Linked DNA regions of Homo sapiens: region 1 is linked to region 2. The links are contacts of gene promoters, found by promoter capture Hi-C in blood cells and fetal thymus (Javierre and others, 2016). All regions are on one chromosome and are shown on one strand. The core of a region is centred on a gene start or on the middle of the fragment in contact, and the rest is flanking DNA. Distances in the headings are between cores, read along the strand shown. Region 1 overlaps ZNF318 (zinc finger protein 318). Region 2 holds the start of DNPH1 (2'-deoxynucleoside 5'-phosphate N-hydrolase 1).

The links. Contacts are between HindIII fragments. The CHiCAGO score rates a contact against its expected background, and 5 or more counts as called.
Region 1: a contact is called between a fragment that was not itself captured here and the fragment with the promoter of DNPH1 in region 2, in 2 of 17 cell types (M2 macrophages and M0 macrophages). The highest score is 5.6, in M2 macrophages.

The regions. Positions count from the first base shown.
Region 1 is chr6:43,334,046-43,338,419 of GRCh38, reverse strand. ZNF318 (zinc finger protein 318) reads left to right here. Exons shown (of 10, transcript NM_014345.3): 10 at 1-2,350. The coding sequence ends at 1,262. Among named protein-coding and RNA genes, the nearest start is that of CRIP3, 27 kb to the right of the region's middle. The HindIII fragment of the contact is 676 bases long and covers 2,585-3,260 here.
Region 2 is chr6:43,227,921-43,232,157 of GRCh38, reverse strand. It overlaps DNPH1 (2'-deoxynucleoside 5'-phosphate N-hydrolase 1), which reads left to right and starts at 2,677. Exons shown (of 4, transcript NM_006443.3): 1 at 2,677-2,897. The coding sequence starts at 2,702. RefSeq lists silencers at 2,379-2,818, 2,879-3,068 and an enhancer at 2,396-2,895. The HindIII fragment of the contact is 28,530 bases long and covers 1-4,237 here.

The DNA of each region.
Region 1 (4,374 bases), core at 1,673-4,172, 110 kb before region 2:
GCTCTTTCACAAAGGCAAAATTAGACTCATTTTTATCAGAAGCTAGGTCTTTACTCAACCCACAAGATACACCTGTGAAAATTTCTGCCCCAGAGTTGCTGCTTCATTCCCCAGCCAGATCAGCTATGTGTTTAACAGGTAGTCCACAAGAGCAAGGAGTTTCAGTTGTTAGTGAGGAGGGGCTAGAGAATTCAGCTCCAGAATCAGCTTCTAGAACTTCTAGGTACAGAAGTCTCAAACTCAAGAGAGAAAGATCAAAAGACTTTCAAGTTAAAAAGATCTATGAGTTGGCTGTTTGGGATGAAAACAAGAAGAGGCCAGAGACCTGGGAGAGCCCAGAGAAACCAAAAACAGAAGCACTGGAGCTACAAGATGTCCATCCAGAGTTAACAGTGACAATAGAAAGCAAGGCCCTAGAAGACTTTGAAGCTACAGACTTAAAGGTAGAGGAGCTTACTGCCCTGGGGAATCTGGGGGATATGCCTGTTGATTTCTGCACTACTCGGGTAAGCCCAGCACATAGATCCCCAACTGTCTTGTGTCAGAAAGTGTGTGAAGAAAATTCTGTATCACCTATAGGGTGTAATTCCTCCGATCCCGCTGACTTCGAACCAATCCCATCTTTTTCTGGGTTTCCGTTAGATTCTCCCAAAACCTTGGTGCTTGACTTTGAGACAGAGGGTGAACGAAACTCACCTAATCCCAGGAGTGTTAGGATCCCTTCTCCTAACATTTTGAAAACTGGACTTACAGAAAATGTTGACCGTGGCTTGGGGGGCCTAGAGGGAACACACCAGGCCCTTGACCTGTTAGCAGGAGGAATGATGCCTGAGGAAGTAAAAGAATCTTCCCAATTAGACAAACAAGAGTCACTCGGATTGGAATTAAAAACAATTAATTCTGCAGGCCTTGGGCCATCTCCTTGCCTTCCAGACCTTGTTGACTTTGTCACACGGACCTCTGGAGTTCAAAAAGATAAACTGTGTTCTCCACTCTCTGAGCCAGGTGACCCTTCTAAATGTAGTTCCCTGGAGTTGGGGCCATTACAGCTAGAAATATCGAATGCATCCACCACAGAGGTGGCAATTCTGCAAGTAGATGATGACAGTGGCGACCCTCTGAATTTGGTTAAAGCTCCAGTGTCAAGGTCCCCTCCAAGGGAGCAGGTAATTGAAGACAATATGGTCCCTCAGGGAATGCCTGAACAGGAAACTACAGTTGGTGCCATCCAGGACCACACAGAATCCAGTGTTCACAACTAAGAATAAATACCTAGAGCTACTTGTGAGTGAATCATTGGCTTCTAGAAATCAGATGCCCAGATGATCCAAGACTAGTTTGTTATCTCATCTGGAACCTACACCAAGAGATGCAGTCAGCATCTTAAAGTAAATGTTCATGGAAGCTAAAAAATTTACCTCCTTTCCTTTTCCCTTTCCCCTTAAAACACCAGACAAATCGATAACAACTTATATATATATATATATATCTGTAAAAATGTATTTTGTTAATTTTTTTGGCCAATTTATTTTCTCCCACTTTGTCATTAAAATCACATGTCTAACTGGCTCACCACATAGTGTGCTTTGATTGTATTTTGGCTTTGACTCTGCCATTTCTGAAATGTGGGGGAGGATGGAGGCAGCTGACCTCTCCAGTTGCTGTGTTGTATTCCTACCCAATTTCCTGGGCAGTTGATGCATCTCTGGGAAAAACACCAGAAAGCTTGCTGAAATGGAAAACTTGGAAGAATTGTTCATCTCTTAGGCTTCCATTTGGATGGGCCTGCCTTAACATTGTTTGAAATGCAGCGTGAGTAGCTCTTTTGTTTACTGTTTACACCCCTTATTGGCATGTCAACTCCTGTACTTCCCTTACTCTGTTGCCTTTCTTGAGATGCATTGTCCTGCTAACCCACAAACCTGTTTGGAAATAAACATGGAAGAATATCTGGCAGGCTTACTTTTAGAAGACGACAAATCGGTAAGGCTTATTCATGGTTCATTGCCAGGAGCAGATATGCTTTTGAGATCACTTTTATTTTTGAAATGGCCTTTGTTCATTGTATTGTGATCCAATAACACTTTGTATTAAATTGTTTAGCAGCCATTTGTGTTGTGAAGGGGTAGAAGATCTCTGAAACTTGTCTTGAGATTGAACTCATTCCCTGTTCCACAAACCCATATGTATCCTTTCCTCTACCTCCTCCTTTCCCAATTAATTTCAACCATAGTACGATGTTTGGGGTTGTATATTTTGTTAAAAAGATTAAAGAATTTATGAGTTGGCTTGGACAAGTTTAACTTTATTTTTAATGTGTTAATTACTTGGAATAAATGCATTAATCTCATGTTTCCTTCTGGATTTTTGTTTTGAAATCACACACATTTGAACTCCAAAGGAAAACTAGAACAGTGAATCCCTGCTGCCCTATTGTCTATCCGCACCCGCAACCATGCTTTCCTCACTTGTCAGAACTACTTCATGCCAGAATGTTAGGATATATAGTCTGCCCCAGCGCAGCCTGGGTGGGTAGTGAGTAGGCAACAGTTGTCTGGTATTGGTATCTTCCTGTTGTGAAGCTTTTTATATACCTTTGTGTTGACTCTCCGTAGGATTTTCTGGGAACTGAGCTCCCCTAGGACAATCAGGTTCTTGCTCTTGGGAATTAGGGAGCTCAGTCCTCAGATTTTCTCTGTCCCAGTTTCCTCTTGTATCCCTGTTGTCAGCAGTTTATAACCTGACTCAACAGGGCCTTCGGAGTCTTATTTACCCACCTGTTCCTCAAAGATAATACAAAATTGCTGATCTGGATTAACCTCCCCGCTCCCCCAATTTTTTTTTTCCTGTTTCCTTATGTACAGAGCTATAAAATCCCTAGGTCAACATTGGGAAGGATTTTTAATTTTTTTGACTAATGTCAATTTAGAAGTCATTCTGGCCTCTCTTATGTTATGGAAAGGACACAGATTTGGGAGAGCTAGATCCTTGACTGTGCCTCAGTCATTTACCTTGCTGTGATTTTAGACAAGTTAGTTTACCTTACTGTGTCACAGAGTTGTTTTGTGTTGTTTCCTTTGAGATAAGAATCGTTATCTTTATCCTAGCACCAATATGTACAGGGTCAGGGTATCCTGCCCATGTCACCTTTCTAGCCCTGGTTTTTAGGACAAAGCCTGAGTTCAATGCAGTTTTCTTGCTTGGAAACCATAGACTAACTCAAAAGGTGCCATTTAGAAGAGTTTAAACCCAAGTAAGCTTCAGAGAGATTTGTTTTCCCAGAGAACTACTCCCTCCCTGTTATAGCAGGTTATCTATAGGAATTCAGGGAACATAATTTTTAATGCCAGTTTGTGCTGATTTTCAGTCCTGTTCACTTAGTTCCACTTCCCTTTAGGGGGAGACTGATGGTTTTAGAGAAAGAGTTGGGAGGAGGTAACCATATCAAGATCCCAATCCTAACCTTACTTCCTCAGAGGGCATTGAAATCTTACCCTGTAGGTTAGGAGGGGGCTACTTGAGTGAGAAGAGAAAAAGAGGCAAAATTTATTGTAGGAAGGGCAGAACTAGTTCAGGTAGCTAGGGCTGGAGTACTTTGAGCCTAAGCTTTGGTAGTAACTCCTCTTGTATTCTCTGGATAACTTCAGGATTTACACCAAAGGCATCTACCAATCCGGCTTTTTCAAAAATAATGCTCACTTAAGAGTTACGGGAGTGACATTCTTTATATCTTCCTTGAACCAGCAGAGGGAGAACTTTGAGGATTCTGTATTCTGGGCAGGAAGTGTTGCTGCCTCCTTCCTTTTGGTTAGTGGGATCTAGCTTTGGAACCTATCCAGAGAAGACAGGTGAAAGGAAGGACAGAATTCTAACCCAGTAGCTGGAGATAGAGCATATTTTTTTGTTGTTCTCTACTATCACAGTACTGAATAAACTTTCAACTTAGGAGACTTAGGCACATGGAAGAAATGGGCCCTGAATTTTAAATGCAGCTTATGGTGTAATATAACTATGTTTTAAATTTTACAAACATCAGGAACAACTTTTATCAGATATCCTCAATTGTGAGAAGCAGATGATCAGCAATTATGTTTAAATTTGGGCAAATACCTAATTTTACCTAAGGTGTATAACCCGCTAAAAATTCCCCCTGGCCTTGCAAATGGGGGGCTTCCTGCTTTACAAGCCATATTATATTCACAGGGCACATAATATTCTGCTAATATTGCTGAATAATATAGTTAAGTATTACTTCGCCCATGACACTTCATCTTTCTAAAAAGTCAGAAAGTTAGTATTTTGGTAGCAGAGCATGCCAGCACATAGTCAATTTATCAGTCTGCCAGATTCCAGGACTGAGGAAGAATGGGGTGG
Region 2 (4,237 bases), core at 1,428-3,927:
TTCAGGAGGATGATGAGGGAGGATTGCTTGATCCTAAGAGTTTGAGGCTGCAGTGAGCTGTGACCATGACACTGCACTCCAGCCTGGGTGACAGAGCAAGACACCATCTCTTAAGAAAGAAAAGAAAGAAAGAGAAAAAAAGAGAAAGAAAGAAAGGGAGGAAGGAAGGGAGGGAGGAAGGGAAAGAAAGAAGAGAGAGAGAGGAAGGAAGGAAGGGGAAAGAAGGAAGAAAGAAGGAGAAAGAAAGAAAAAGAAAGAAAGAAAGAAGAAAGAAGGAGGAAGGAAGGAAGGAAAGGAAGGACGGGAGGGAGGAAGGAAGGAAAGAAAGAAAAAGAAAGAAAGAAGAAAGAAAGAGAAAGAAGGAAAGAAAGAAAAGAAAGAAAGCAGGAATACAGCAGTGAACGACCTTCTACTAGGTATAGAAAAACATGCAACAAAATTAATAAGTTATATGGTGTATGAGAAGGAGAAAAGGCAAGGTAGGGAAGGGTGATAGAGAGTACTGGGGGATGGAGGGCTGCCATATTGAATAGGGTGATCAGGGAAGGTGAAGTGTGAACAAAGACTTGAAGGAAATGAGGAGTGAGCCAGGAAGCTACCTGGGAGAACAGTGTTCCGGGCAGAGGGAACAGCAAATGCAAAGACTCTGAGGCAAGGGCATGGCTGACATGCTTAAGGAACAGCCAGGAAGCCAGTGAGGTGGCAGAGAAGTGAATGAAAGTAATAGAAGCTGGAGTTAGGGAAGTAAGAGGGTGACAGGATCATCTGGAGCCTTGTGAGCTACTGTGAGGTTTTCAGTTTTTACCCCAAGTGAGATGGGAACCACTGGAGGGTTTTGAGCAGAGGAGGGTCATGACCTAGATCACTCAAGCTGCTGAGTGGAGAGCAAACTGTAGCAGGGAAGGGCCAGGGGAGGTGTATAGAGAACCCTTGACATAAGTAATTCCATCTTAGAAAGACTCCATCACTGGGCACATTCGCTTATGCCTGTAATCCCAGCGCTTTGGGAGGCTGAGGTAGGGGGATTGCTTGGGTCTAGGAGTTTTGAGACCAGCCGTGGAAACATAGTGAGACCTCGTCTCTACAATTTTTTTTTTTTTGAGATGGAGTTTCACTCTGTTGCCTAGGCTGGAGTGCAGTGGCGTGATCTTGGCTCACTGCAACCTCTGCCTCCCGGGTTCAAGCGATTCTCCAGCCTCAGCCTCTGGAGTAGCTGGGACTACAGGAGTGTGCCACCACGCCTGGCTAACTTTTTGTATTTTTAGTAGAGACGGGGTTTCACCGCGTTAGCCAGGATGGTCTCGATCTCCTGACCTCGTGATCTGCCCACCTCGGCCTCCCAAAGTGCTGGGATTACAGACATGAGCCACCGAGCCCAGCCAATTTTTTTTTTATTAGCTCAGCATGGTGGCACGTGCCTGTAGTCCTAGCTACTCAGGAAGCTGAGGTGGGAGGATTCCTTGAACCCTCAAACTTGAGGCACGAGTTTGAGGCTGCAGTGAGCAATGATCGTGCCTCTGCACTCCAGTGTGGGCGACAGGGACCTTGTCACCAAAAATAATAAATAAATAAATAAATAAAGTTTTAAAAAACTTCATCTTACATTTCAAAAGGCATCAAGCCAACAGGGTCCAGATGTTCGCCTAACCAATGGAGACAACACCCAACCAGATAAGGGCATCACCCTTTACTATAAGTCCTCATCAGAGGACTCAAGGACCATAAAATGATCAGGACTTCAGCAGCTAGACACGGCCACCTTAACAGACCGAGTCTTGCTATCACTCGTGCCCAGCACCTGGTGTCTGCCTCTGAAGGCTCTGCCCAAATCAAGGACTCTTCCTTGCAAGCTCTTGATGACTATCCCCATCAGGCCGGGACTCTGTCCACAGCACTCTCCTTGGACTGGTTCGTTAACCCCTTTTCTCTTGATGTTAAATGTTCTTGTGTTTGATGTGAAATTTTAACCTGTAACATTTATATCCTTACATATAATACTATGGATGGTTTGCAATACAGTCTGACTTGTGGAGTGGCTCCAGCTTGCATGCCCGCGGCTCTGACTACCGAGTGAACAGGTGGTCCTAAGGAGAACTGACTTCTTGGGAACTCCGTGTGACGCCTAGCTTTTGTGATTGAAATAGCATCAGTAAAAACCTGATCTTGTGGACAGACACAAAGGTGGGTGGACCTGGTTCTGTCTGACCTTGAGCAGCTCACGACATGTGGACACCTGTTAGGAGGCTGTGGAGAGCCCAGAGGAGGCTTAGACCAGGGTGGTGGCCCTGTAGGCGGTCGTGAGATTTCAGATTTGGAAGGACGAATCCACACGAGTTGTCAATGGATGGGACGCAGAGTTTGAGAGAAAGGGAACGATCCAGATGACTCCGAGGGTCTTGGGCCTGAGCAGCTGGGAGGATGCAGCTGGGGAAGACGGCGGGGAGGAGGGGAGCAGAAGCGGGTGAGGTGGGGAAGCCCTCGAGTTCTGCCTGGACAAGGTCAAGTTAAGGTGCGTGTTAGGCATCCGAACGTCAAGTCCAGGAAGGGTGTGTTCCCGAAAGGGTCCCGGCTGGATCCTCCCAGTTCGTCGTCCCCATTCCACAGGTGTGGACTCAGCAGCCGGGCTCTGCGCTGGGCCGGGCGGGGTCACGTGGCCGCGGGCTGGCGCCCCCTGGCGCCGGAGAGCGCGGGCGGCTGGGGAATGGCTGCTGCCATGGTGCCGGGGCGCAGCGAGAGCTGGGAGCGCGGGGAGCCTGGCCGCCCGGCCCTGTACTTCTGCGGGAGCATTCGCGGCGGACGCGAGGACAGGACGCTGTACGAGCGGATCGTGTCTCGGCTGCGGCGATTCGGGACAGTGCTCACCGAGCACGTGGCGGCCGCCGAGCTGGGCGCGCGCGGTGAGGCCCTGGGGCCGCGGGACGCGGGGACGCGGGCGCGGACCTGGCTGGGGTGGCAGGGACCCGGCCTGTCCGCCCCCCCGACCCCCGGCAGCTGCGCTCCCGGCGCCCGGAGCCCGCCCTCCTACCCCGGTGCTCCATCCAGCGCCCCAGCCCGAGAAGGAAACGGGCCGGGGCTCGGGCTGCGTGGGTCCCAGCAAGCCTGCGGGTGTAAGGCAGACTCAGCATTATCTTGACCTTTGGTTCCTTCTTGGAGAACTCTGTCTTCAGCTGCTTTCAGAGCGTTTGTAGGGTGCAACAGAAAGAAGGTAGATTGGGCTGCTTTGCTTGGGCTCAGTTCCCACCTCACCCGCTGGAATCTTTTCCACCACCCAACACGAAAGGTATCCTCCTGCCTCCCCACCAACTTTTTTTGTTTTGTTTTGTTTTGTTTTTGAAACGGAATCTCACTCTGTCGCCCAGGCTGGAGTGCAGTTGCGTGATCTCGGCTCACTGCAACCTCGACCTCCCGGGTTCAAGTGATTCTCTTGCCTCAGCCTCCCGAGTAGCTGGGACTACAGGCACGCGTCACCACACCCGGCTACTTTTTGTATTTTTAGTAGAGACGGTGTTTCACCATATTGGTCAGGCTGGTTTCGAACTCCTGACCTCAGGTGATCTGCCCGCCTCGGCCTCCCAAAGTGCTGGGATTACAGACAGGAGCCACCGCCCAGGGCCTGCCTCCCCTTTTTCTGTGAAGACATCAGCACTCTTTTAGACCTGGCTGACCCCAGTTCTCACTATTACCCTCTCTCACATTTTTGTTTTGTTGATACAAGGGCCTCTCTGTCGCCCAGGCTGGAGTGCAGTGGTGCGATCATAGCTCACTGCAGCCTCGGCTTCCTAAACTCATGATCCTCCAGCCTCAGCCTCCTATTAGCAAGGACTGCAGGGGCACGACACCATGCCTGGCTCAAAATTTTTCTGTAGAGATTGGGAGTCTCACTATGTTGCCCAGTCTGGTCCCGACCTCCTAGCCTCAAGTGATCCTCCCGCCTCAGGCCTCCCGAAGTGCTGGGACTATAGATGTGAGCCCCCATGCTGGCCTCATATTCTCTTTCAGGCCATTATTGTGTTCTGCTCCTGGCTGCTGGGTTTTTCTTTCTCTTTCTATTTATTTAGTTATTTATTTGGAAACAGTCTTGTTCTATTACCCATGCTGGAGTGCAGTGGCAAAATCTCAGCTCACTGCTAACCTCTGCCTCCCGGGCTTGAGCAATCCTCCCACCTCAGCCTCCCAAGTAGCTGGGACTACAGGTGTGTGCCGCCATACCTGGTTAAGTTTTGTATTTTTTATAGGG